4 separate regions of the Homo sapiens genome follow, and all the other regions are linked to region 1. The links are contacts of gene promoters, found by promoter capture Hi-C in human tissues and cell types (Jung and others, 2019). All regions are on one chromosome and are shown on one strand. Each heading gives the region's core, a stretch centred on a gene start or on the middle of the fragment in contact. The rest is flanking DNA. Distances are from core to core; before and after follow the strand shown.

Evidence for each region. Contacts are between HindIII fragments. The study calls those that stand out against the background at their distance.
Region 2: a contact is called between a fragment that was not itself captured here and the fragment with the promoter of STXBP6 in region 1, in 6 of the 25 tissues and cell types used here (IMR-90 fibroblasts, adrenal gland, dorsolateral prefrontal cortex and 3 more).
Region 3: a contact is called between a fragment that was not itself captured here and the fragment with the promoter of STXBP6 in region 1, in 1 of the 25 tissues and cell types used here (spleen).
Region 4: a contact is called between a fragment that was not itself captured here and the fragment with the promoter of STXBP6 in region 1, in 8 of the 25 tissues and cell types used here (adrenal gland, dorsolateral prefrontal cortex, heart left ventricle and 5 more).

The regions. Positions count from the first base shown.
Region 1 is chr14:25,048,211-25,051,844 of GRCh38, forward strand. STXBP6 (syntaxin binding protein 6) reads right to left here and starts at 1,937. Exons shown (of 6, transcript NM_001394410.1): 1 at 1,668-1,937. LOC124903295 (a long non-coding RNA gene) reads left to right here and starts at 2,134. Exons shown (of 2, transcript XR_007064091.1): 1 at 2,134-2,224. The HindIII fragment of the contact is 10,437 bases long and covers 1-3,634 here.
Region 2 is chr14:24,989,222-24,992,855 of GRCh38, forward strand. The region is part of intron 1 of STXBP6 (syntaxin binding protein 6); the gene reads right to left. Among named protein-coding and RNA genes, the nearest start is that of STXBP6, 59 kb to the right of the region's middle. The HindIII fragment of the contact is 4,243 bases long and covers 1-3,634 here.
Region 3 is chr14:25,085,798-25,089,431 of GRCh38, forward strand. No RefSeq gene overlaps it. Among named protein-coding and RNA genes, the nearest start is that of STXBP6, 37 kb to the left of the region's middle. The HindIII fragment of the contact is 8,084 bases long and covers 1-3,634 here.
Region 4 is chr14:25,008,725-25,012,358 of GRCh38, forward strand. All of the region lies in intron 1 of STXBP6 (syntaxin binding protein 6), which reads right to left. Among named protein-coding and RNA genes, the nearest start is that of STXBP6, 40 kb to the right of the region's middle. The HindIII fragment of the contact is 5,454 bases long and covers 1-3,634 here.

The DNA.
Region 1 (3,634 bases), core at 687-3,186:
GAGACAATATCTAAGACCTGAATGGTGCTTTTAAAGTTTTCTTAGCTCTTTTCATTTTCATTATCTCATCTGAGTTTACAACAACCCTGCAATGGAGGGAGGTAAGGCCACGATTATCTCCGTTTGACAGAAGAGAAAACTTAAGTTCAGAGTGACTAATCATTTGTCCATCAGCACTGTCATCAGCTGTAAAGCTGAAACTTGACCTCAAGTCTGTCTGACTCTAGAACTGTGTAGTGTATCCACATTATGTGATTCGCACATCTAGAAATCGGCCCCAAAGCAGACTACCCTCAAGGAAAAAGCAAAGAGAAAAACAGGCAGCAGAATGGTGAGCCCCTAAATCCTGGCACTTGAGCAGTGTGAGGGTGTCCCTTTAAGAACGTAACACACAAACCCAACAGCCAAGGTGTTCAGCCAAAAAAGAAAAAAAGAGAGGCATATTTCTAGCCTGCATAATCATTTCTGGACCGATTCCCACTAGCAGCCTCTGAGACGAACAGCAGCTCACAGCCTCGGCTGAAGCTCCTCCACCCCCAGGGTGGCTCTGACTAGGGCGCAGCTCTGACTAGTGTGCAGGCAAAACCCCAAAACTCAAAACAAGAAGTGAAAAAAGTGGAGCCAGGAAAAATTCGTCGGCATCCTCCACAGCCTTACAATCCGCACAATGCCAGTTCCAGGGTCCTGGGGTCGCCCGGAAGGCAATCTTAGGAGAGGGTGGAATGAGATGGAAGTTCCTGCGGACCTACCGATCCTATTCTCTCCCACCCAGTCCCTAGGGAAGCGTAATAGGAAGGGGAGAAGGTTCGTTATGAAATCCTGGGGCCAGAACCAAGGGCAGATACACCCCGGGGACTTTCTCCTAAAGAACAAGATGTCTTTCCAAATTCTCCACCTGCAGGTCCTGTCCTCTGTGAAGATGAACGGGGTGGGGTGGTGAGGTGGCGGGGTGTTGTAAACCTGAGGAAAGGTTGGAGGGAAAATCAAGCCACCCACCTACTCCAGCCACGTTGCCCGGCGGTGTTGGTGAGGCTCGATGCCGGCGTGCACGGCAAGCGCGAATTCGGAACCTGGCGCCCTTGACCAAGCCTGAGATCGGAAAGGGGGCATCGCCCAGGGCCAGCGCCCTGGGGGCAGGGTGCCGTGCCCGCCAGAAAAGCTCGCCTCAGTTTTGGCAGTAATGATTTTCCTAGAAGATGCCAGAGTTCGCGAAGATCGGAGTGATTCGCGGATTTCTGCGCTCAAGCTAGAGGCGCAGCGACCCCGAGCTCCCCCACACTGGGAGCCTCGGGGCAGCATTCTCGGGGCCCATGCCATCGCGGGGACGGTGCGGAAAAAAAGGCTCCATCCTCAACTTTCTCGGAGGAAATCGCTCCGTTCTGCGGCTTGCCCAATACTGCCCGCACAACGGGTCCCAGGGTTGGAGAGAACCAGGGACACGAGTCCCTCTCTGCGCGCACAAAGCAGCTGCGCCGGGGCGCGCGGCCCCCTCTCCCGCCACCCGCCAACTTGGAAGAATCTCTCTGGGAGCCTGCCTACTCCCCTGGCCTCACAGCCACCCGCCTCGGACGGAGCGCCAGGCGCCCCAACAGCCGTGGCGGCTGCAACCGCATCTCCCGGGCTTGGCCTCCGCCCTGACCGCCTGGCTCCCCTCGCCCCGGTCCTACCGTGCAGCCTGGCTCGCGCCCCTGCCGTGCCAGTGCGCGGCACGCGTCCCAGAGCACGAGGCTCCTCCCCGGGGGGCTGCCCCGCGCGGGGCTCCGGGCTCCGGACAAGGCTTAGCCGGCCCGGGTGCTGGCTCGCCGCCGCTCGCGGCTCCCGCGCCGGCTCCTGCTGCCGCGCGCGAAAAGGGAGGGGTTGGGGGGAAACTCCCGGCAACTCCAACTCCGGGCGCTGGAGCTCCAGCTGCAGCCGCGCGCCCGCCCGCCGCCGAGTGCGAGCGCCTGCGAAGCAAACCTGCCCGCGCGGCCGCCTCTGAGCATGCTCAGTGCCGCCGTGGGCGAGCCCGAGCGCCCTGGCCCGGGGCAAAGAGCAGCGGCTAGGGGCTGGGGGCTGGGGGCCGGGACCCGCGACCCGCCCCAGGCCTCGGAGCGCGGAGGTGGCAGAGGAAGGGAAAGGCCAATGTAGGGGCGGGGGCCCTGAGCCAAAGACCCGGGAGAAACCGATCTGGGTGCAAGAGCCGGTGCGACTTTCACGGCTTGTGGGAAGTTTGTGGGCTAGAAAGGTGGGCTGCTTCTGTGAGCTTCTCTGTGAGACTATATTCGAAAGGACAACCAGGAAACATTTTTTTTTTTCTCTAGGAAAAAACGAATAGACCCAGCCGATGGGTTTTTATCCTGTGCGCTCCTTCCTTTATTCTTACGATAGCAAACTCAAAGATCTAATGGGGCCTGACAGGCACTGTAACTGGGGGAAGGCGAACTGGAGAGAGCTCCGAAGGCAGGGCCGCTTATCTGCTCTCAGGGTCCCTTGCTATCGGGCAAGAATTAGACCTAGTGTTGCTAGATTTTCTGATTTTTCCAGAAATGACGGAGTATATTCATGTACAATATCCTGATTTGTAAAATCTTGATAACAAATTCAATTTTCTCAAAACACCCTGGACTAAACAAAACATATCTGCGTCCCCTCCCTGCTGAACCCCCCAGACAGTGATTTGAGCATTGTGATTCTGCACTCTTTTAGCGAAGTGGTGCTGAGTGCTCACTGTGGTTTGGGAAAGTGCTGGAAAGGATCCAAGATGATTCAGAATATCTTCGAAGTACTACTAGTTACTAGGGGAAATGGGTTTTCCTGACAGTAGAGCGCTACACTTAAATGCTGGAGCGTTCAAGAAGAAAGACGTTACTAATGTAGAAAGCGGTTGTAAGAACTAACTTTTGGGAAACATCATTAGTAAAAGTATCTGTGTGGGGAGTCACTGCAGGGCCGATAACAGTGCCCCGGAAGGCACTTTTGAGCCTGAAGCAATAGGAAAAACCCCTAAACTTACCCTGTCTTTATTTAAAATTTTGTTATTTTTCATCATGCATTTTTGATATTAATTTTGATTTTTTTAAATATTCCATTAAAATATTAACCTTGATTACTGAATTCTTTGGTGAACCTTTAAGTGCTGTGACTCACCTCACCCTAGCCTGGCCCTGTTGGGGTGTTAGATGGTGGTACACAGACCTGCTTGTTTGGAGTGCAAGGGGTAAGCATTAGCATAGTGAAATAGGAAAGAGGGTTTGAGCTGTGGATGGGGGCTCAGGCAGAAGTCCTGACTGTCAGTCTGTGGCTCCTGCACTTAGTTTGTAGACTACGTGGAGATAGCAGAGATGCTGGGGGAGGAGACAATCCGAACTGAATTCTGTGAAGATGGACAGGGCAGCAGACCCAGGAAGATGGTTTGGAGGGGAAGAATGGGAGAAACGGGGATACCTAGGATATCATAAAACTGATACCCTAGGTATCCCCATTTGGTAGCTACAGTTTTATGAAAATCAGAGAAAATTGCCTGAAAAAGTAAGTTTCTTTTGCTCTGCCTATCTCTGTAGAGACATGTCATGGGGCTACCTTAGTGCCAATGAGTAGTGTGCCGGGGTCCTGGTCTTAACCTCAGCCATTTCCCTACCAGGCTTCCATGGGCAAG
Region 2 (3,634 bases), core at 334-2,833, 59 kb before region 1:
TATTTTTCTAATAACTGGCCTGTTTACTAATTCATTACTGTCTGGTTACTGAGGATACAGAAGCTGGTGTAGATACTAAATTAATTAGCATGATTGGGAAAGTTGTAAGAATATATTTTCAGAAAGGTAAAGCACAGTTTAAAAATAAAAAAGTACTGCCCAATGGGGCAGTAAAGCAGAGATCAAGAAATCGTCACAGCGATTTGGGGGAACTGAACTAAGGGCATCAAAATAAACAAAAAACAAGCCAAATATTCATATCACATAGTCATCTTAGAATTTTATAAAGACTTTATATTCTATCCCTCTCCCAATATGCCAGCTGCTCTGATAAAGTGCCACAAAGCAGGCTCTGAAGAAACAAATACCAAGAATGTGAAATGTGTGTTTGTGGGGAGGGGGATGGCAGTATGGTGCACGCCTAATGTATGAAGGTGAGGACTGTCTTCATGCTTAATTAAGATCCTCCAATTAACCTATTTCCCAGCATCTGGCCTCAGAATGCAAGCAAGGAGGCTGCCCATCACGAGTGTGGGCTCTGTTCTACTAGACAGAGCATATGTTGAGCCAGTGACCCAGGTATGACGTGTCTTTCTCACAGACAGACTGGGAGGTGTAGCCTTCTGCCCTTTCTTACATGAGTATTAAGATACGCCTCACCTTTATACGTTAAGCATGTACTGTGGTTACATGTGCCATGTAGTCCATGGGTTGCAGAATGGTTCAAATGGATCGTGACAGAACTAGAATTGTGACAGAGATCATTGAGAATTGTGGCTTCAGATGGAGACAATGGTTTTTAAATGGTCCCACAGTCAGCAAGAGCTGACTATGACTTTGGACACTTCCTGTTGGGGAAAGGTTAAGTGAATATGTGGTTTTACCTATAAGGATTGGCTTACATTGGAAGAGGAGATCTTTAGAACTGTGTGTAGGAAATGAGTTACGAGCCAGGCCGGGGAAGGGTCATGCCTCAGAATGTCTTGCTTCTCATCACTTTGTGCTTCTGAAGGAAGCTTCCAACTTCCTGATCTTATGCACCACATGGGTATGCTTCCCTGTTCCAAGCTGAGTAGGATGGGGAGAGTTGAGAAAGGCCCGACTTAGGAAGAATCAATCCAGCTACAATATGACCTTGCTTGAAAAGATAAGCTGCGCCGCGCGCAGTGGCTCACACCTGTAATCCCAGCACTTAGGAAGGCCGAGGTGGGTAGATCACCTGAGGTCAGGAGTGTGAGACCAACCTGACTAACATGGCAAAACCCCATCTCTACTAAAAATACAAAATTAGCCGGGCGTGATGGTGCAGGCCTGTAATCCCAGCTACTCAGGAGGCTGAGGCAGGAGAATTGCTTGAACCTGGGAGGCGGAGGTTGCAGTGAGTCGAGATCATGCCATTGCACTCCAGCCTGGACATGAGTGAATGAAACTCCATCTCAAAAAAAAAAAAAAAAAAAAGATAAGCTGGGTCAATTAGATCCTGAAAGAAAACAGAGCAATTAGTAGTGGGAGCTGAAGCTTTAAGGTCAGTTATGCAGAAAGAGGCTGAGAGAAGAAGGTTGATCACATACAAGCAAATGCCACAAAGAAAACTGGTCTGTAGGTTGAGGAAAGGGTGATGCAGATATGCAGAGAGAAGAGGAGGGAGAGAGAGGAAGAGGCAGAGAGGGGACAGGGAGAGGGAAGGGAGGGGAGAGGATGGAGGAGAGAGCAGAGGAGGAGAGAGCAGAGAGAGAAGAAAGGAGAGAGAGCATGAGAAAGGAGGAGAAGAGAAAAAGGAGAGTAGGAGGAGAGAGAAAGAGAAGAGAGACAGAAGAGAGAGGAGAGCAGACAGAAGACAGAGGAGAGGCAGCAGAGGAGAGAAGAGGAAAGCAGAGAGGGGGAAGAGAGAGGAGAAGGAGATGAGTGAGAGAAGGAGGAGGAAGAGAAAGAGGAGGAGAAGAGCAGAGAGAGAGGAGGAGGAGGAGGAGAGAGGAGAAAAGGAAGCATCCAGAACTTCTGCTCATCTAGTCATCCCCACTTCCAGTACATATGCAGGCTTATGAAAAACTCTTCTTTTCCTAAAGTAATTGGAATGACCTGCTATTACTTGCAACCAAAAGAACCAACAAAAGCAATGAATATTGTCAAAAAATTAAAATCTGCAAGTATGTGTCTTACTTTCTTTATTAATACAGTAGGCCTAACAGCTGCCCCAATCAGTTTATACAGGTCATTGAGAGAATGCAGATTAATGCGAATGTGTAATATGATGTTGTTAAGAGGTGTGGATAGTAAAATGACAGCCAATTCAGAGTCTTAAATACACAGAGAACTTTCATTGCCTGTTAGATGCTCAGTTCACTGAGCTTTTATCATCCCCAAGAGCAATATAAATCCAGTCAAAAGACATATTAATGCAAGATGACTTTTGTCTTTTACATAAGGGGAAAATCAACCAATTCAAGGTTATGATTCCCACAAATTCAAACCACACTAAATATGTCATCTAACAAAAGAAAGAAAAGGAAAGAATGCCTAGAAGACAAACTTTGGTGACAGATAAGTACATCTCTCAGAACTGCCTTTTCTCCATGACTGCACAGCCTGGAGGGCTTGCTTCTCACACAGGAATTCTGACTAGAGAGCGGTAGACGGCCCACCAAGCCTCACAGCCCCTACATCCACTCCCAGCTTGCATGTGGCAATATGGAACCCAGACACCTGGTGGCCCTCCTCCTAATACGACCATTCTCCTTCCTGCTGCTTCTCCCTGGGCTGGGCTACGTGCCACTCTTTTGCTCAACATTCCAACAGCTTTATCACTGTGCCAAGCACATTGTAGGGAACTGCAAGATTCTTCTTACCGGTCTGTTTTTCCAACCAGATTCTGAGCTACCGAAGAAACCCCAGCACCTAGCACAATAGCTAGGAAATAGCTCCATATTATGGAGCTGAAAAAGCATGTCTTCAATGCATAGATCCATCTTCCCCATCTTGTTCCACTTTCCTGGCCCTAGCCTTTCCTTTTAAAGGTACTACTTAGTCCCATAGTCACACTGAAAGAGACTGCTCTAACTACCCATGAGCTTTGCTTTCCCTTGGCTCTGCTGCCTCCTTACCACAAACAAGACCATGACCAATGCTGCAAAGGCACAGTCTACACTCCACATGGTCTCTAAATATCTCAAACAAATTTGAAGAAAAAATAAGTAGGAAAAAAAAAGGTCAAAGACACAAACTTACCAGCCGACATAAAACACCTAATGCAGGACCATAATCCAGGGGTCAGCAAATATAAAGGACCACTTAGTAAACATTTTAAGCTTTGCAGACCAGAGTTGGTATAGCTACTCAACTCTGCTGTGACAGTGTGAAAGCTGTCATAGACAAGACATAAATGAATGGACGTCACTGCGTTCTAGTAAAATTTTGTTTATAAAAACAAGTGGCCGACCCACAAGCTGGAGTTTGCTGACCCCTGGATTAATGTAATGCAATAAGCACCAATCAAGAACATATGTATGTGCGAAACATCAATGCTAGCTGCTGAGGCATATACAGCACAGCATCCCAGCCCTATATGATACTAGAGGAGAATCAACCATAAGTAACTCTGAAAAACAGGCAGACTTGATGAGTATGATAACAGAAG
Region 3 (3,634 bases), core at 531-3,030, 37 kb after region 1:
TCATCCAAGCTCAAAAAAAAAAAAAAAAATCCCATTTTTAAGTGCATGCTAAAATGGTGCCAAGAGAAAACTCAAAATAGAAGCCCCAGGACAGAATGATCATTTTATTCAGTAAGTTTAAATGTAGTATTAGAGGTTAACATAACCAAATAGAGTATCCAGGATATTATTTAAAATTTCGAGTTGAAACTTTCAAAGAGATGGGTAAAAAGGAAGGAGTACCTGCAAGAAGTTTTCTCCAAGATCTATGCCTGCTAAAAGACCTCCAAATACATATCCCAAGCATGTGAACAGGCACTGTTGCTAGGTATTGTTGATTCAAATTTATTTAGTTTTTTAGAATTGTAATTATCGTGTTTGGAATAGTTACTAAGCTGCTATTATGTGCACGGTATTGTGTTTAAGTGTTTCTGGAAGCTGAGGTGATGATGTCTATGTTTATGTTCCGTAAGACACCAGGAGTGGAAGTCTGTGGGTGGTAGGGGGAGCATGGAGGAGGCAGGCCCACCGGGCACGTGGTTGAAGAGATCATAGTGGAACTGTGTCATACAAATGCAGCCTGTTGTATTGAATGTACTTGTTCTCACTACGGAGTAATCCTGATCTGCCTGAACTCCAAATGAAACTACCTGTCTGTACTGGGATAAAAATAACTTCAAAGTGCTTACCAAGTATCAAGAAGTAACTTCCATATTTATGTGAAATTAATCTTATTAAGCATGAAATCTCAAGAAATTTCAAAGCTAACACTACCTCTACAAGTATCTACAAGTTAAAGATAGGAAGTTTAACACTGAGTAACTTTATTCTCATTATTTTGAAACTCACCTCCTTGGTAGCTGTATTTCCTATTCTCTTTCTTATTTTGTTGCTATCAATGAGAATGGACTTCTCCATCATGATTTAGAAAGAAAACCTTCCTTGTCCATATAGTTAAAAGTAAACTCATCTTAAACTTTTATACAAAGCATTTTCCAATCTGGTAGAAAAATGAAAAAGTTTTCTTTCAGCACTACTTTCTGTGGGCATGTACCACATATGTCTGTTTTTTTTCAATTTTCTTTTTTCATGGTGTAATTGCCCCTTGGTTATCTCCTCCAGGTGCCTCAAAATTACCTGAAGTTCAGCTCTCTGGAATTGAACTCATTGTATCTTCCTCCAAACACACTTAACCTTCCTTGGAAAATTCCTATTCATCCTTCATTGCCCAACCTCAATTTCACTTCCTCTCTTGTGCCTTTCCAGCTTCCCCAACTGAAGTAGTTGTTTCTATTGTCATGCTACTTTTTCATATTTTTGCTATTTTATTTACTTACTATTTCTTGCTTCTAAGCTCCTCAAAAGCAGGGAACCTGTTTCCTTTTAGCTACCGTAATTCATGGCATAGTTTAGACACTGAAAATATTTGTTGAATCAATTTACATGCATCTGCTACTGTCTTTTTGTTCTTTGCTTTAATGCAAACATTTCTCAAGGGTAAGATGTTTTGATTTGCTGCGTAGTGAATGTCAGTAACACACTGTTAGATCTTAGTTATGTCTCTTAAGCACTTGGATTCAATTTCCTCATTTATAAAACATAAAAGAAATGGCATTTCTTTCTTTAAGTATATACATATTTCTTTCTTTCAATGTTTTCTTTTATCTCACAGGCTCTATTTTGAGGTCTGGCTCAAAAGTAGAGTTGAAGACAATAGAAGATTTTTAATTCTGGAGAAAAAAAGATCTTAGGGGGAACAGAAGCACTGTCTTCAGCTATAGAAAGGACTTTCATCTGGAACAGGGACAGCTGAGTCTGTGTGGGTGCAGGAGCTAGAACTAGGACTAATAGGTGAAAGTTACTAAGAAGCATTCAAACATCAGATAGATTTGGTACATGTTGTCTAGGTCATACATCCCAGATGTACGAATTTCAAGGATCAGTAAAATACCCATGCCACCCCAAAATGTGGACTTACCAGGTTTTCAATGTTTTATTTTGTCAAATTAAAAAAACCCAAGCCAAACAACAACAAAAAACCAAAACGACTTTCTACTACAACTATCATTTCATAAAAGATAATTTTTACAAAAAAACAGAAGGACACAATAGAGAATAGATCTTTTGGGGATAAGGATAGTGACAAACTGACAATGCTACACACACACACACACACACACACACACACACACACACATCTTTTACTATCATTTTAATTAGATCCTGCAAACATCAATAGTGGTTTAATGGGCTTGTAGATCATCATTTGAGCATCAGTATCCTGGGGCCCCCTTTAAACCTGACATTCAATAATACTGAGTCAAGATACACAAATACAGACAAATATATATTTACATACATATATTTAATTTGGAGGCCTTGCTAGGTCTAAGAAGACATTTTCCAATAAAATTTTTTGGGGAACAGGTGTGGTGGCTAATGTCTGTTATCCCAGCACTGTGGGAGGCCAAGGTGGAAGGAATGCTTGAGCCCAGGAGTTCAACACCAGCCTGGGCAACATATTGATACCCCATCTCTACATTAAATAAAAAATAATGCATACTGGTGCATTATTGTAGCTGGGACTACAGGCACATGCACCACCATGCACTACTCAGGAGGGAGGCTTACTTGAACCCAGGAAGTCAAGGCTGCAGTGAACCATGTGTCACAACACTGCACTACAGCCTGGGTGACAGAGTAGAGACCCTGTCTTAAAAAAAAAAAGAAGTTGTTGTTTGTTTTTGGAACTTGATATATAGTTATATTACTTTGACTTACTTTCTGTATGTAGTCAGAATTTTTTTTTTTTATGTTTGCCCACCCCCCCTTTCTTTTTTTGAGGTGGAGGCGGGGTTTTGCTCTATTACCCAGGCTGGAGTGCTGTAGTGTGATCATAGCTCACTGCAGCTTGGAACTCCTGGGCTGAAGCGATCCTCCTGCCTCAGCCTCCTGAGTAGCTGTGACTACAGGCACACACTACCATGCCTGATTGTTTTCTTCATTTTTGTAGAGGCAGGGTCTCACCATGTTGCCCAGGCTGGTGTTGAATTCCTGGTCTCAAGTGATCCTCCTGCCTTGTCCTCCCAAAGTGCTGGGATTACAGGCAGGAGCCACTACACCTGGCACAGAGCATATTTTTGAACAAGATCCTTAATTCTGACATGTCTTTGCACATCATGTTTTTCTTTGAATCTCTAAAACAAGTAAGTGTTTGTTGGTCTGGAAATCCAAACATAAATCTAATGCTGGGCTCTTAGTATGGTTCAAATTGCATCTGTATGAAAACCTTGTTTAGAAAGATTAGGACAGAGACTAGTTTTCTATTGTTTTTGCTGTTTTTTTTTTCCCTTGCTGCTGCTAGTTTCCTGTGTAGTATCAGGTTGTTCCTGCTCTGAATTAGGGTCCAGTATGGACCCAGCAGGAGGTGGCTCTTCTGAAGGTGGGAGTGGTGGATGCAGGGTTGATTACCTGGCCTGGTCTGAGATGAGCAGTTGAAGGGAGAGCCTATCTCTTAGTAGGACAGAGTAAAGCCACTGCCTAGATAAAAGGGTCTTAGTATTAACGGTGAGGGAGGAGACTTTGACCTCTGCTAGGTTTGGGTAAGACTTATGCAGTAACTTAGAAAAATGTTTGTATTCCCATTTTTGAGACC
Region 4 (3,634 bases), core at 345-2,844, 40 kb before region 1:
CTACCAGCTTGAGAATGTGTAACAAAAAAGACATTTTACACATCAAAAGGTTTTATACCTATAGAATATTTTACACATCAGAAGCTTTTAGAATAGCAAGCAGTAGCATCTAACAACTCACAGAAGAATGGCTAAGCTTTTAAATCCCAAAACGAAGAGTCACTCTAACATCTTCCACCAAGACTTTCTTCACAAATACTGTGGTCAAAAGGTTTAAGTTTTTTAGCAAATACTATCTCAGCCAGCCCACCAGCCAGCCAGTATATATTATGTGCTAACTCCACAGAGAGACATGGAGAATTCTGAGAGCAAGATATGACTTTTATCACAAGTTACTGGATTCATCAGCAAAATAAAAAGGATGGATGGGATGATAGCTAAGATCACTTCTAGTTAATTTGTTTTGTTTTCACTTCAGAATGGTCTCATTCAACTATCGAACTGTATTATAAGACGTCAAGTTAAGGACGTCTTAAAGCAATTAAAAAATGAAATTTCAAAACAGTTCAATAAATGGAGAATTCTTATCACTGGGTCCTAATATCTGATGTTCTAAAACCTAAACATACAGCTTTGAAGCTTCAAATATTATTTAATTTCCCAGGGACTCTTCTCTTAAGCTCATTTGCTGATTACTTGGGTTCCTTGTTTTTCCATTTTCCTACTTGCATCTCAAAATGAGGCATAAATTATACAAATTATACAAAACTATACAATAAGTAACCAAAATACATTTCCTTCCCAGACCCAAAGCCCAAAGTGTTAGCTTGCACAGTATCATGTAGCGTAATCAAATGCACAGAAAATCTCCTCCCTCAGTGAAACAGAAACCCAACAAGCCCAGTCCGACAAAGTGAGGAGCACGCCATCGCCACAACGTCACCTACTCTTTGAGAACTTACTCCGACTTGGTGCTGACCCTGCACTAAGAGATCCAGGTTTTCTAGTCCCACTGGTTTCTGTTACAGGGCATCAAAACACCCACATGTAGCCTCTTCATGCAAAACAACATCACACACACACAAACTGCATTTAGAACCAAGCCAAATACCACAAACATTATATGTTACCAAATTTTCAGCAATATGACTGCCACTGTATGGACTACAAATCATTCAAAGCCATTATTTACTTTTTCTAGAGTGAGTGGCACTCTCCAGGGAGAAATGCTAACAGGCTACCCCCAACTCTCCTCATCAGCCTAACTTCAGTTGTTTTTTCACTAAAACACCTAAAGATACCAAACACAACTGCTAACAACAGTGGCTCACTGAGCTCCCGGGCAAAGGAAAAGAGGTCTTCAGAGCTTCAAAAGCACACTTGGAGATTCGGACACACCCTCATTCCTCTTTGGGAATCACTGATATGAGAGATTCCAGCTCAACATGCATTCCTGGAATTCTGAGTTCTCACCATAGAAACTCTAGCCAAGGCAGTCCTCAGGAAGAGCTGTTAAGTTATGGCTCACTTTATGATGGTTATGCTCACTTTAGATTTGAAAAGAGATTTATGGACTAGCCCAAAGTAGCCTCTAATCAGACTCAGAGGAAGAACATGTTTCCACGTTAATAAAACTTCTTCTCCGGTAAACCTATTCAGGCAATTAAAATGCGTTCCAATTTCTACTTCCCAAGCCTTTACATTCTTTGCTCTTAGCAAGAGAATTCAATAAACAAAACCTGAATTTTAAATCTGAATTCCAATTGCCTGAGGCTATTTTATACTTAAATAAATAAATAAGTGGCATAAATTAACAAATGTTTTGTATTTAAAATATGTTTTTATAAGGCATTTACCTACCTTTAACGCAGCCTTTTAGTTGGGACTGCACTTCATGGAAAACTCCACACACAAAGCACCTTTCCTCCTAGTACTTCAAGGTCCTTATGAAGGAGCAGAACTTTCTAAACAGGAAACTAAAGCACAGAAAGGCGGAGCCTTAGTGACACTAGAACCCCAAATTCCTGGCATTCCCCAGCTGTAAGTTCCAGGCTCCCATCATCATATACTACATGCTTTGCATGTGGAGACGGGTCTGTTTGATGATTTTTTTTTTCTTTTCTTTGGGGGATAGGATTTGGTCAAAGTGACAAACATGAAAGAAAACAAAATTTTGACAAGACCAATGGTGGTGGTGTGGAGTTTCAAAGCCCATCCTATGAAAGAACCACCTTTCTACTTTACATACTGACTTTCTGTATTCTAAAACTACCTTCAACAAAGTCAATGAGATGACTTGCTGGAAAAGCCCATGAAAATGACAGTCTAAATATAGAAATCTAAATGCAACTAATTACTTAAATCAGATATTGAGACCGTTTCACAATGGCAGATTTAATGTTGAGAAAAATAACAAGCAAGGCTACAGTGCAAAATGAATTTGTCTATAACTACAAAAACTAGTTTAGTATTAAAGATCTACTTTCCAACAAAGAAATTTATATTCCATTAAGAACCCTGCAACCTTTGACATAGTCTTTGTTTCACTCCCCACCAGAACCACAAAGTAATTATGACACACCTGACATATTATGACACACAGGCTCTGATCCAAGCTTCCTACAAGATGACACTTTTCCAGATGGCACCTGAGGCTGTCAGGTACCGTCAAGTATTTCCTATGTTGGAAAAATACTCAAGGATATTACATAAGACTGCTCCTCTCCTGTATATGCACTAACTTCAGAAAGCCACTGCTAACTGTTTTGGAAACACACTTCCTTTTCTCATGATAGAAACTCTTTCATACCTGGGAAATAAGAGCTAATGTTGTTCATTAGCCAAGAGAAGCTAAGGTTATTGGGCATTGTGACAAAATGGCACGTTACTGGGTTCAGTCCAAGAGAATGAGACAAAATAATGTTTTCCCTGAGCCCCAGAGACTACAAAATCCAGTTATATTTTAAGTAGCCATTTTTAGAGATTTATATACTGTTCAGTGATAAAAATAAATGAGAGTCCCAGGCTTAAGGCACCATTATTCAGCTTTTAAAATTGCAGCATGTTTTCTTGCAGGATTTGGTTCAGCCAACTACAGGATGAAAAAAAAGTATTTCTAAGCTACATAGGTGAGCAATAGATTGGATCCTGGGTTCACAAATTAGTGGAAAACATATGAGCCATTAACGAATTCCACAGGCAAGGCAGGCTCTTCTCTGGATGACTGAGATCTTCAAAAGTCAATACTCTAAAAAACTATTACTACATTTTGAATTTCCTACTGTGACCAGAAAAGCAACATATTCGGAGTACTGGCTGTTTTTTGTTTTTGTTTGTGAGACAGGATCTCGTTCTGTCACCCAGGTGCAGTACAACGGGACAAAAACAGCTCACTGCAGTCTCAGATTTGACTAGAGTCAAATTCTAGTTTTGCCACTTATTAGCTGTGAGACTTGAAGCAGATCACTCAGGCATACACAAAAATGGAGTTAAAAAAAATGGAGCTAATTTATAAGGCCACAAGTGATTATATGTATGTAGCATGAAACATAAAAGATGAGCCTAGAATAGTAGTTCTCAAGTTTGTTGGTCTTAGGACGCCTTTACACTCTTAGAAATTATTCAAGACTTCAAAGAGCTTACCTTAAAAAATTCTAGAAAACATAAGAACATGCATGCACACAGTCAGGCATGT